Linked DNA regions of Homo sapiens: all the other regions are linked to region 3. Evidence: promoter capture Hi-C in human tissues and cell types (Jung and others, 2019). All regions are on one chromosome and are shown on one strand. The core of a region is centred on a gene start or on the middle of the fragment in contact, and the rest is flanking DNA. Distances in the headings are between cores, read along the strand shown.

The links. The method cuts DNA at HindIII sites, captures the fragments that hold promoters and counts their contacts. A contact is called where the count stands out against the background at its distance.
Region 1: a contact is called between a fragment that was not itself captured here and the fragment with the promoter of A2M in region 3, in 1 of the 25 tissues and cell types used here (hippocampus).
Region 2: a contact is called between a fragment that was not itself captured here and the fragment with the promoter of A2M in region 3, in 2 of the 25 tissues and cell types used here (mesendoderm cells and thymus).

What each region holds. Positions count from the first base shown.
Region 1 is chr12:9,168,901-9,173,396 of GRCh38, forward strand. It overlaps PZP (PZP alpha-2-macroglobulin like), which reads right to left. Exons shown (of 36, transcript NM_002864.3): 16 at 530-691; 17 at 1-74. It also overlaps a transcript of KLRG1 not described here. Among named protein-coding and RNA genes, the nearest start is that of PZP, 37 kb to the right of the region's middle. RefSeq lists an enhancer at 1,201-1,712. The HindIII fragment of the contact is 4,945 bases long and covers 1-4,238 here.
Region 2 is chr12:9,145,679-9,150,586 of GRCh38, forward strand. PZP (PZP alpha-2-macroglobulin like) reads right to left here. Exons shown (of 36, transcript NM_002864.3): 35 at 3,883-3,924; 36 at 3,162-3,316. The coding sequence ends at 3,294. It also overlaps a transcript of KLRG1 not described here. Among named protein-coding and RNA genes, the nearest start is that of A2M, 32 kb to the left of the region's middle. The HindIII fragment of the contact is 4,844 bases long and covers 710-4,908 here.
Region 3 is chr12:9,112,952-9,117,438 of GRCh38, forward strand. It overlaps A2M (alpha-2-macroglobulin), which reads right to left and starts at 2,968. Exons shown (of 36, transcript NM_000014.6): 1 at 2,813-2,968; 2 at 409-592. The coding sequence starts at 2,898. It also overlaps a transcript of KLRG1 not described here. The HindIII fragment of the contact is 8,783 bases long and covers 1-3,768 here.

The sequences.
Region 1 (4,496 bases), core at 516-3,015, 55 kb after region 3:
GACACGGAAGGGATGACTGAACACGACTTTGGTTTTCGGATTTTTGAGTTAGTGAACACCTTCAATCCCATCCCCTGGAAAAAAATAATTGTTCAATCTACTTGTAAGCTTGATTAGAATATATAAAACATATTATCCTTAGAGACTTCTCTATGTAATTCCAGTATCCTTATATTAATTCTATGGCGAAACACTTGACAGTAAATATAGAGTAGTGAAATTACTAAACTTATGGATTATTAAGATTTTATTCTTTATTCATTATTTTTTGGTTTGCAAATAAAAAAACCTAAATATAACTAAAAAGTATCCAGATGAATAGGCAGAGGTTAGATCTAGCCCTGACTCACATACTGAGCTTTTGTGTGATCCTCACAAGAGACTTTAACCTTTTTATTGGCTTCATTTTTGTCTGCTGAAAAATGGAGAGGCAAGGCTACATAATTACTAAGATTATGAATAGATACAGAGTTTTATTAACATTCAAAAACTCACAAGCCAGCATGTTAATAAGTAGTGAGAATTTTACCTTGAGGAAGCTATAAATATCTGCTTCATTACTTGATAAGGGAACATAGATGGCTCCATTATGAATGAAGAAAGGACGGGGACAGTGTCCTTGTTCTTCCTCCTGCTGGTCCACATTGTCAGGAAAATTGGTGAGATCCTTCACAGTTAGCAGATTATATACCTGTAGCAGTGGGGGGATCAAAGGCAGAACTGTTACTTACTTTTCTTTTGAAATAGAATGAACTGAGAGAAATAAAATAATTATCACCAATCTTTTCTTGAGTACGTTCATGTAGTTGGTACCTTAGAGATAGTTGAAGATTTTCCTTATATTTAACAGTGTTGTTTTGTTATAAAGAAATGAAACCTACTTGGGAAAATGCTTCCAAAGATTAACAAAATCTTAAGTTATGAAGGATTAATTAAAACTTCATTGTAGAGTCTAGAGGTAAAAATAGACCAAATATAGAAAGAAGACGTAACTTGCATCTGTGTTTAATTAATACATAATGCCCTGAGGAATTTAGCTACATATTATTATTGCCACCTGTTAAACATCTATGTCTACTCAGGCTTATTCTCAGACAGAAAATCGTATAGATGGCCCATTAGAAGCAGCTGCGGTCTGCAGCACTTACGGAGTGGAATGAAAAAGCTTATTAAATGCAGCACCTTCAACTGAAATACCCAGGTTCTCACATTGAGACTGACTAGGCAAGCAACTTGAGCCACAGAGAACAATGAAAAGCAGCAGGGGCGGAGGTGGGGGAGGGCAACGGAAGGAACCCCCACCCCCAGCCAAGGGAAGCGGTGAGTGATTGTGCGACCTCGCCTGGGAAATCACATTTCTCCCAAGGATCTCTGCAACCCATGGATCAGGAGATACCCTTGTGAGCCCATGCCACCAGGGTCTTGGGTCTGATACACAAAGCTATGTGGAGTCTTGGCAGAGCAGCTGCTCAGGCACACAGAAACCCTGGAGTTTTACATAATCCGGCCCTGGGATCCCTGGAAAGGCAGGAAATCTGTTTGTATATATCCCTAGGAAGGGGGCTAAATTCAGAGAGCCAAAGAGCATCATCCTGTGGACCCCACTTCCACAGCACCTCACAGGTTAAGACTCACTGTCTTGGAATCTCAGCCAGCCGACGGCAGTGGGTTGGAGTCCACCTGAGATGGACCTGAGTTCCTGCAGGGAGAGGTGGGTGCCATCTCTGTGGTTCTGAGGACTCAGCCACTCCAGCCTGAAGGCTTGGGGAATACAGATGGTCTGGATGAGGAACGGTCCCCCACGATGCAGCACAGCTGCCTTGCCAGATTGTGATCAGACTGCTTCTTTAAGTGGGACCCTGATCCATTCCTCCTCATCGAGTGGGACCTTTCTGTGGGGGCTTCAGGTACTCCAGCCAGGGTTCTAAAGACAGAGCTTTGATCTCTCCCTGGGACCGAGCTCCTGGGGGGCAGGGGTGTCTGCCATCTCTGCAGTTTGGTTGACTCTGCCACTCCAACCTGCTGGCTTTGGAGAATACAGGTGATCCAGGTGAGGAAGGATCCCACCCAATGCAGCCCACCTGCTCTACCAAAAAGCAGCCAGGCTGCTTCTTTGAGAAGGTCCCTGATCCCATTCCTCCTGACTGGGCGAGACCTCCCAATGAGGGTCTCCAGCCACCTCCAACAGTTGCATGTGGGCTGGCAACAAGTTAGTACCCCCACAGGATGGAGTTTCTAGAGGAAGGCACAGGCTGCCATCTTTGCTGTTTCATGGCCTTTGCTGGTGATACTTCCACGTACGGGAGAAACCAAAGCAACTGGGGTCTGGAGTGGACCCCCAGCAAACCTCAGCAGCCCTATGATAGAGTGGCTTGACTGCTAAAAGAAAAACAAACAAACAAACAGAAAACAACAGCATCAACAAAAAAGACCTAACACAAATCTAATTCAAAGGGCAGCAGCCTCAAGGATTAAAGGTAGATAAGTTCACAAAGATGAGAAAGAATTAATTCAAAAACAACGAAAACTCAAAATGCCAGAGTGTCTCTTCTCTTCCAGATGACTGTGACACCTCACCAGCAAGGGCACAGAACCGGGCTGAGGCTAAGAATTGACAGAAGTAGACTTCAGAAAGTGGATAACAATAAACTTTGCTGAGCTGTAACCCAATGAAAAGAAGCTGAGAATCATGATAAAACAATACAGGAGCTGGTAGCCAGAATAGCCAGTTTAGAGAGGAACATAACTGACCTGATGGAGCTGAAAACCGCATCTCAAGAACTTCACAATGCAATCACAAGTATCAGTAGCAGGATAGACCAAGAGGAGGAAAGAATCTCAGAGCCTGAAGATTATCTATCTGAAATAAGACAGGCAGACTAGAATAGAGAAGAAAGAATGAAAAGAAATGAACAAAACCTCTGAGAAATATGGGATTATGTAAAAAGACCAAACCTATGACTGATTGGGATCCTTGAAAGAGACAGGGAGAATGGAACCAAGTTGGAAAACATACTTCAGGATATCATCCAGGAGAACTTCCCCAACCTAGCAAGACAGGCCAACATTCAAATTCAGGAAATGCAGAGAAGGCCAGTAAGATACTCCACAAGAACATCAACCCAAAGACACAAAATCATCAGATTCTCCAATGCCAAAATGAAAGAAACCATGTTAAGGACACCTAGAGAGAAAGGCCAAGTCACCTACAAAAGGAAACATATCATACTAACAGTGGACCTCTCTGCCAAAACCATGGAAGCCAGAAGAAATTGGGGGCCAATATTCAACATTCTAAAAGAAAATAATTTCCAACCCAGAATTTTATACCTGGCCAAACTAAGCTTCAAAAGCAAAGGAGAAATAAGATTCTTTTCAAACAAGTGAATGGTTAGGAAATTTATCAACACAAGGCCTGCCTTGCAAGAGCTCCTGAAGAAAGCACTACGTTTGGAAAAGAAAGACCATTACCAGCCACTACAAAAACACACTGAAGTACACAGGCCAGAACACTATGAAGCAATCACATAAACAAGTCTGCAAAAAAGCATCATGATGACAGGATCTAATTCACCCATAAAAATACTAACCTTAAATGTAAATGGGCTAAATGCTCTAGTTAAAAGACACAGAATGGCAAGCTGAATAAAGAGCCAAGACCCATCATCAGTATGCTATCTTCAAGAGACTCATCTCACACGCAAGGACAGACACAGGCTCAAAATAAAGGGATGGAGGAAAATTTACCAAGCAAATGGAAAACAGAAAAAAGCAATCCTAGTTTCTGACAAAACAGACTTTAAACCAACAAAGATCAAACAAACAAAGAAGGGTAGTATATAATAGTAAAGGATTCAATTCAACCAGAAGAGCTAACTATCCTAAATATATATGCATCCAATACAGAAGCACCCAGATTCATAAAGCAAGTTCTTATATACCTACAAAGAGACTTAGACTCCCACACAATAATAGCGAGAGACTTTAACACACCACTGACAATATTAGACAGATGATTAAGACAGAAAATTAACAAAGATATTTAGGACCTGAACTCAACTCTGGATCAAGTGGACCTGATTGATATCTACAGAACTCTCCACCAAAATTCAACAGAATATACATTCTTCTCATTGCCACATGGCATTTACTCTAAAATTGGACACATAATTGGAAGTAAAACACTCCTCAGCAAATGCACAAGAACTGAAATCATAACAGTCTTTCAGACGACAGTGCAATCAACTTAGAACTCAAGATTAAGAAATTCACTCAAAACCACACAACTATATGGAAATTGAATAAACTGCTCCTGAATGACTCTTGGGTAAACAATGAAATTAAGGCAGAAATCAAGAAGTTATTTGAAACTAATGAGAACAAAGAGACAATGTACTGCAATCTCTGGGATGCAGCTAAAACAGTGTTAAGTGGGAAATTTATAGCACTAAGTGCCTGCATCTAAAAGCTAGAAAGATATCAAATCAACAACCTAA
Region 2 (4,908 bases), core at 1,882-4,381, 33 kb after region 3:
CTTTTCTTTCAGTTGAAAAACTCTCTTTAGCATTTCTGGTAAGACAAATCTAGAGGTGATGAACTCCCTCAGCTTTCGTTTGTCTGAGAAAGTCTTTATTACTCCTCCATTTTTGATGGACAGGTTTCCCAGGTATAGTATTCTTGGTTAGCAGGTTTGTATTATTTTACCACTGTGAATAATTTCACTGCCTTCTGGACTGCAAATTTCTGCTGAAAAACCAGCTGATCATCTTATCAGGCATCTTGTCTATCTTACAAGTCACTGTTCTCTTATTGCTTTGAAAATTCTCTTTTACTTTTGATAATTTAATGATTATGTATTTTTATGTGGATTTCATTGGGTTCATCTTACTTAGTTATTTTTGAACCTGGATTCCATTTCCTTTTTCAGGTTGAGAAGGTTTTAGTCATTATTTCTATGAATAAGTTTTTTCTTTCTTTCTCTTTCTATTCTCCTTTTCTGACTCTCATAATTTGTATAATGGTCAATTTGATGGTGCTACATAAGTTCCTTAGGTTTTCTACACTTTTTATTTCTTTGTCTTTTTTTCTCTTCTGACTGAACTACTTCCAATGACTGGTGTTCAAATTAACTGATCTTTTCTTCTGCTTTATCTAGTTTGCTATTGAACTCTTATAGTGAATTTTTAAGTTACTGTGTTCTTCAGCTCAATGATTTCTGCTTGGTACCTTTTGATACTTTTTGTGGTTTTGTTGAAATTCTCACTGCTCATACATTGTTCTTTTGACTTCAGTGAGCATCTTTATGAGAATTATTTTGAATTCTCCATAAAGTAAATCACATAATTCCATTTCATTAGTGTTAATTTCTAGAATGTATTTTGTTCCTCTTTAAAGGAATATCTTTGCCTAATTCTTCATTTTCTTTGACTCTCTGTGTTGTTGCCTCTGCATTAGACAAAGGAAGGCACCTCTCCCATTCTTCACAGACTAGTCTTGTATAGGAGAAGGTTCCTATCAATCAGCCTTGTTGGAGGTTGTGGGAGATTCTAACAATCCTTTCTCTTCTCAGGGAGAAGCAGGAAGCTGTGGTTCTTGTCTGCTTGTTTTGTGATGAGCTAGGGGAGTTATAGTGTTCACCACTTCAAATCAATGCTGTCTTTCTCCCCCAGGCAGCCAGTCTGTGCTGGACCCATCAGAACTACCTGACTGGCAAGATAGGTGCCAATTCTTTGGTCAGCCACAGAGAAGTTGGAGTATTGGATGCAAAGATCAACTCTTTTCCCAGGCGGAAGTTGAGAGCTGGGATTTAAAAAAATCCATTTACTGTCTGCTAGCAAGGGGAAGGATTAATGGCATCTAGAATTCCAAGCTGCCACCTCCTTTCTTCCAAGGTGGGGCTAGACTGTGCAGACTCATCTGAGCTCCCCGACTGGCAAGGCAGATGTCAGTTGTTTGGGTATCTACAGAAAAGTTAGGGCATTAGACACATGGATCAACTCTTTCTCTCCCTAAGGGAAAGCTGAGAGCAGGAAATTTTTTGTCCACACACTCTGCTGACCAGGGAGAAGGATCTATAGTGCCTACCAGTCCAACTTGCCATCTTCATTCTCCTTCAAGCAGCTAGACTGTGCTTGTCCTGTCAGAACTCTATCACTGGCAAGATAGAAACCAGTTCTCTGGGGAGAACCCTCAGAAAAGTTAAGATGTGTGAAGTAACCCCTTCTCTCCCCTAAGAGAAGCTGGGAGCTAGGGGGCCTCTTTCTAATTGTATTATGCTATGCTGGGAGTGTTCTGAATCTTCTTTTTTCTGTTTTTTAGCCTCTCATAAGCCGTAGCATGTCCTGAATCTTACTGGCTTCGGTGAGTCTGCTTTTGCATTTGTTTAGGATACAGGAGTCTTTCAATTAGCCTTTGAATTTCTCACAAAGGGAATTTGTCCATGATTGTTACTAAACTGGTGTTCATGTGTGGGACAGGGGGGAAGCCTGGGGGAAGACCAGGGTTTCCTACTCTGTCATCTTGCTGACTTCACTTCTCCACTCATGTATCTTTCATCAGCCAGTTTCTTACTGTGTTATGGCTCCACTCTGGTATATCCACCCACCATTCTTCTATGACTCCTTGAACCCTTCAAGCTAAGTCTTCTGGAACTCAGAACCTATTATTAGCAAAATATCTTATAGCCTTCTCCAAATGTTGCCTTTATGTATGAATTTGAAGCATGTCTTCCTATTGAGACCTTGACTTGTTTTATGTCTCCATTAAGAGGTGACCAGTTTTTTTTTTCTCCCACACTACATTTATCCCTGTTTCTGTAGATAGGATAATGTCATTCTTGCCTCTTCTCAAATACTTGATTTTTTTTCTCTCCATAAAAGGCATTAACTACTCTCATGCCATTTGATTTTACCATCTGCTATACCTTTGTTTATTTTTAAATGATGTTTAAAAATTACTTTAGAAATTATTTTAAGCAGAAAAAATTGTGTATATTTACCATGTACAACGTTTTGAAATATATATTCATTGTAGAATGGTTAAGTCAAGCTAATTAACATGTACATTACTTCATATAGTTGTCATATGGTTAAACTCTACTCCTTAGCATTTTTCAAGAATACAATATGGTTAACTGTAGCCACCATGTCTCTTTCTATTAAAATAATCTATAGGATGCAGGTTACTCCCCTTTTATTCTTTGAAGATTTTAACCCTTGAGTCACTGCATCCTCACCACTGTTACTTTTATCTTTAAACTTATTAATTTTATTATCCATGTTTGTAGATGGTTTATCTAAATCCTTCACTCTCATCTCTTTATTTTTTTAATCCATATAATAATCTTATCCTAAAATGCACTTTAATTATCAATTCTCTAGATATTAGTTTTTCCTATAACAGCACTTCTCCTCATCTCAAACATCTCTTCTGATGTCTCTTCTTCTAATCTTCTGACCCTTCCAGTCCAGTTATATTACCACGTTTATATTATCTATCATCCCCTTATGTTCTCACCTTCCACCTTTCTCAACTGAATTTTCATTCAATTTCTTTACCTGCAACCTCCACTCTGCTTTCCTACTAGAATGCTAACCTATTAGAATCCAACCTTTGCACCAAAATTAAACAGAAAGAATATAACTCATCATGTGAACATGTTATTAATGTCTGATGAATGAATGATGCAACAAGTGATAGTTTGACCAGAAGTACATATTTATTCAGCAAATATTTTTAGTGTCTATTTTATAGAGACAAATAACTCCATTCCTTCTAAGTAAATGTATAGGACAGAGAATCCACCAAAATATACAGCCTGTATGGTCCTCAAACATTTCCATGCTCTGTATCTATGGAGAAAAGAAAAACGTAAGGAGGTTGTATCATTTCCTGAGGAGCATTCAGTTGAGTGTGGGCAGCAGAGTGAGCTTATGCAGGGTCAGGAAACTTTGTGAAAGGCCAGATGGTAATTATTTTAGGTTTATATGCCATGTGGTCTGTCATGACTAATCAGCACACAAAGGCAGCCATAGCCAATGTTAATAATAAGTGTGGCCATGTGCCAATAAAGCTTCATTTACAAAATTAAGTGTAAGGCTAGATTTGGTTTTAGGTGTGTGATTAGTTGACCATTGTGTTGAAGGAAGCCCAATTAGCTGTGAAGTGAAATGTCGCTTTTAGAGATAGCTGTCCTACAAATAAACAAAGCTTATTGACTTTTCTGGGAGTGAATATCTGAAATTGGAGAGTCCGCTACAGAATAGGCATGCTACGCCACAGTTTTGTCTTGGTGTGAGGACATGCCATGTGGATTGTCTCAGATGTAGGAAAAGCCTTGTAGAGAATTTAAATTGCAGGGGCCCTTGGAGAGTGGGTTAATGCCATCTAGTACTGGTCATAAGTGGTGAACTCTTACCTGTGCTGCAGGGGGCGATATACTCAGCAACCACAGACTCATCTGAAAGATAACGTTGGGTGAAGGAAGAAACGAAAGATCTATGAACTAGGGACCATGCTAAATCTGTCTAGTCACTTTACTACTGGAGAAAAGCACGCCCTATCAGAATTGTCAAAACTTCATGTAAATAGACAAGAATTAAACAGGATCATTAACATATTTATATTCTCTTTCCCTGAGACTGGAGATGGGGACTGAAGCCTGTTCAGATGGCAGCTGTTCAAATTTTAAATTCTTGGGAAGATGATCATAATTGCACTAACCTGTAGTTCTCTCTTCCATGACCTCTCTGCTTCTATTCACTTTGTTCAGCTTGCTCCCTTAATTACTTTTCAAAGATTATTGTTCCAGCTTGAAACACTCCTCCTACTTCTATAGACCCCCAAAACTCCACTCATCCTCTAGGATCCAAATCAGATCTTTCTTCCTGTTTGTTCTTCCTGAGCACCAGCCTTCTGTGCTGTTTTTGCCTCTCAAACTTATTGCTTAGCTCACTAACACTCATTTGTCACTAATAGTCTTTCCTGTTATGTAATATTTTTATCTGTATTATGTTATCTATGTCTCTAAACTACTTGAAAGCAGTGACTATATATTATCATTCTTTTTAATTCTTAAGTTTCTGACTCAAGAAACACTAATTGATAAATTTGTTCAGTAAGTTTTTGTTTTGTTTTGTGTTGTTTTTTCTTTTTTTTGAGACGGAGTCTCGCACCGTCACCTGGGCTGGAGTGCAATGGCGTGATCTCAGCTCACTGCAACCTCTGCCTCCCAGGCTTACACGATTCTCCTGCCTCAGCCTCCATAGTAGCTGGGATTACAGGCACACACCACCACACCCAGCTAATTTTTTGTATTTTTAGTAGAGATGGGGTTTTGCTATGTTGGCCAGACTGTAGTAAGTCGTTTTTATAGTGTACATCTTGGAGGAAAGAAACAAAAGATTAATGTTGACTAAGTGGGCTAAGAAGAGGATCAACTGTC
Region 3 (4,487 bases), core at 1,718-4,217:
CCTTTGCTCAGGGTAATTTCTACAATTTTTACTCTTAGAAGTAGTGTGGAGTGATGTGTTCCTGTCAGTCCACCACGGGTGGCTCATGTTGAGCCTTGGTCTAGTTTGCTTTATTAATATTTTTTCCATCTTAATTTTAAGAAGTCACATTTTCTTTTTTTTTTTTTCCTTTCTGGCTAATAGGGTTTCTATGTGATTATTAAGCTGACTTTTAGTTTGCCTGTAAATATTTGTCTCCCATGGCTGGAGAGTCATGCATTGCTCCTTAATTTCTATACTTAGTTTGCTACATTTGGATTCCTTCCTGCAGTTCTTACCAACCTCCCAAAGCCTCATCTGACAGAATACTAGATCCCTATGACCCTGACTAAAAGAACCAAGTATATTAAGTCAAACAGCCACACTCACAGCGAAGGCGACACAGTGGAGTACGTCATTCTCCGCCTCCAGGTCAGTGAAGAGGCTCCTGTTTCCCCTGACAGACTCCAAGGAAGCACTTACAGTCACTGTCTCATTCAGGTAGCTCAGAAGGACACAGCCCTTCTCAGTGGTCTCAGTGTGGAGCAGGGAGGGGACCAGAACCATATACTGCCTGGGAATGAGACGGTTCAGTTAGAGGAAAGTGAAGGAAGAGAGGCATTGCTATCAACAGCACTTTTTTCCATCATCATAATTATCATCATCAGTTCTACACCAAGAGAAGATGTACTGATGAGCATGAAATTTGGCCGTTGAAGGCCATGCATAAGAATTATTTCCCTTTTCCCTCACATGCCATGGCAGTGAACATTTTACTTGAGGTAGGTCTTAAACAGATTAAAACTTGTAGGCATGCTTCACTTTAAGGAACAATTTGTGAACATCTGAATTCAAATAAAAATATGTAGTTACATTTGTTCATGTTGTAAAATCTATTTTTACCTTCAAGTTGCTGTAAAAAGTAAGCAAGCTCTCAGTCATGCGGACATTACAAAAACTAATCAAATTATAGAATTTTCATTAAAATATATATACACACATACATACATACACACATTCAGCAGCCCTGTGAAAATTGTATGGTAAGCACTCGCTTCCACTCCACAGATATGGAATCTGAGCCTCAAAGAAAGTGAGCCATTACTTCACAGTCTCAGTTGTGGTAAGCAGCTAATAAGGTCTTAAGAGTGTTACCTAACCATGGATGTTTGCATTTTAAATATTTGCCTTTCAGCTCATGATTAGACAATGGCTCCATCCAAAAATGGTCCTCTGGTGATTGACTTTAGACCTTGGTAACTCATGTGCAGTACAGAAACTTTCTCAGTACCCTGACATGTAATTTAAGATCAACCCTGTAGTTTTTATACATTTTTGCTCACAGAACTCCTAAAATAATTTTTGGACTCTGTGCACTCCTTACATATTTTCAAGTAAACATATTTTTATCATGATTTTAAGTAATAGCAAAAGATATTATTTTTGATGATATTTTAAATTAATACTTAGATTACTTTTACAATTTTCTCATGAATAATAAACACTGTAGTATAAGATACCTACTATCACTATTTAAAAGTACATTAAAAAATTCTTTTAATGGTCTGATATTTAATATCTTTCTCTTCTTTTTTCCTTTTTGAATTTGAATTTCCATGCCAATTACCATACAGAAATTTATCCTAAATTTTTATATTTCAAAAAATGTTGTGAATTATTCTTACTTCTTTATTGTCAAGCATCTATACATATACGTATGTATACTTATGTTCACATATATACATATATGAATACATATACATAAATACATATATATGTAACATATGTGGGTAGGTAAATTTAACTTTAACTCCTCTTTTAAATAGAATGTAACCATAAATTTATAAATATTAAACATTTCCTTCTGACTGAGCTATGTTCAAAAATACTTGTATATAACTGATCAAAACAAAATAAATACAAAGTATGATTCATACATATTAGATATAAAATTAAAATACTTTTGAAGCACATCTTTAATGAGAATGATGAGCTGTTTTTTCCCCCAGTGAATTTATGCATCCATGGATTGCAAGAATTAAACAACATTAATTCTGTTACTATTTTTGTTTTGTGTAGCTATAAGTGCTAAGAAGAATGGCTCACATAAAAGTAAATAAATGGCAGGTAAAACAATTGCATCATTGTTACCACTTCTTGCAACTTCTGCATTACATGCCAAAAATCACCTAGTACTCTATTATCAAGAATCCCTTCTCATCACTCATCAGCTGGTATTTCCTTCAGTTCCTCCTTCAGTTGTGTTGAAACAAAGAATTCATCACCACCTCATCTGCAAAAGGATTTCTCTTCTGACATTAGAGTCCCTTGCTTTTTCAATATCAACACCAGTATTTCAAATTGTTCCTTTATTTGGCACTCTATAGATTTTTATACTCCAGGGCATTGTTCCATGTTTGGTTGTGGGAGAGAATTGTCTTTATTTTTATAAAATAGAAAATGGACCCTTGAGAAAGAGGAAATAAGAAAAGATAAATAGCATGGTCTCAAGTAGATCAATATGAATGTGAATATCTAAAATTTATTCTTTTAAAAAGCTAAAAATTTCTGACACCCCTTAGGAAGGCTTTGCATATTAGAGCTTCAGAGAGTTGGGGAAGAATGATTAAAAGTAAGCAAGTAATGAGTAAACTAGATTTGTAAAATCTGGAAGGAATCTTAGAGATAAGAAGATGACAGTATCATAGGAAAGAAAAAGGAATGATATAAAGAAAAATCTGCAATAAATGAAGGACTCTAGGTTCATGCTTCACGCTCTCTGTGTGGAACTCACGGTTTTCCAGAGACTGAGGCGTCTGTGGGCAGGAGGACCAAGAGGAGAAGAACCAGACTTGGATGAAGGAGTTTGTTCTTCCCCATGTTGCAGAAAGAAGGAGCTGGAGGAGAACAGACTGTATTGTACCCTACTCCCTACAATCCATCTGGTCCCAAACACTTCCCAAAGCAACTGGGCTTTATGCTGCTCTGTGTGCAAACAGGAAGTTCCACCCACACAAGATCTCTAAACAAAGTTGAGGTCTCTGAACATTCTCTGGAAAGGTCATTGATGGCCTATTTATAGTCAAGGTTAATTCCTGGCGGGCTAAATAGAATCCCTGGAGGGCTAAAACTACATTCCCATTCCCGTAAGAGCTCACTTTTACCGTACAGCAGCTAATAAGCTTTTCAACCTCTTCTCTCCCTCACTCCCCCACAACTCCTCACAACGCCTTTTATGGTGCTTCTCACATCTCTTGTATGAATAGCTGGCAAGGAAAACTACAATTTAAGCAACACTGGGCAGGCTCAAAATAGATATTTCACTACAAGTCAGTGTGGCTGCAAGTTCTCCATTAGATATGCCTAACCTAAATGTTTGAAGCCACATCAGAATTCAGTAGTCCTCTTTGAAAATGGCACGAATTAAACCAGTAGCTTTTTGACATTAGGGATATTACTGGGTTGCAGATGAAGAGCCAGGCCCTGGAAGAATGATCATAGAAAAGAGTTTCCTGTTTTAAGAAAGTGAAACAAAGAAACGTGAAGTAACAGGACTTCAAAAACAAATTTTGACCTATTGTGCCTAACAAACTTCCCAATTGCCTTTACCATCGACTACACAGACTTCCTTACTGCCTTCCAAATATGATACTCCTCTGCAAACTTTAAGTCATATAAATGATTTCATTAATCCATCCATCCACCCATGCATTTATTCATCCATCTATTCATGTAGCTATTCAGTTGCTTTGTAAGTATTTTTTGATCCTACTAGGGCTAGACATCATGCAAGATTCTAGAGATAGGGTGGTCAAATAAGTATGAAAACAGGCACTTAAAGATTTTACATTCTTGTTGGGGCAAAAACAGACAGAAAAACAACTACTGTATAAAATACAATATAACACCTACTGTATAAAATACAGTATAAAATACAATATAAAACTACTGTATAAAATACAGTAGCCAAACATATTATTGCAGAAGTTCAGGATGCTCTGGGAGCACATAAGAGAGCACATAACCCAGACCTGGAACCTTTTAAAAAAATTTTGAGGGAAAGCAAAATGTAAATTAAGCTCTGAAGTATGAGTAGTGGTTGTCTCGAAGAACAAAGAGATGAAAAGAGCTTTCTAAGCATAACGAATGACAGATGCAAAGGAGGGAGAAGAATCACGGCACATGCATGAAATGAAAACTATTTGGTATGGAGGAAATATTCCTTTCTGATACTTCAAATCAGAAAGGAATTTGTCAACAATATTAAGGTATTCAGAGGAGTACTCAGTGGATTGACTTCAGGTTTGTTTCCTGGAAAGCTTGCTCTTATTGAAATTTGAAAGGGCAGCTAGAAAGAGGTGATCCAGGATGCAGGAAGACCAGATGGGAGCTGGTGTAATAATATAGGTGAAAGCTGATGGCATTTTGAACTATGGAATTTGTGGTGGTATTGAAAAGAGCTTGCAGAT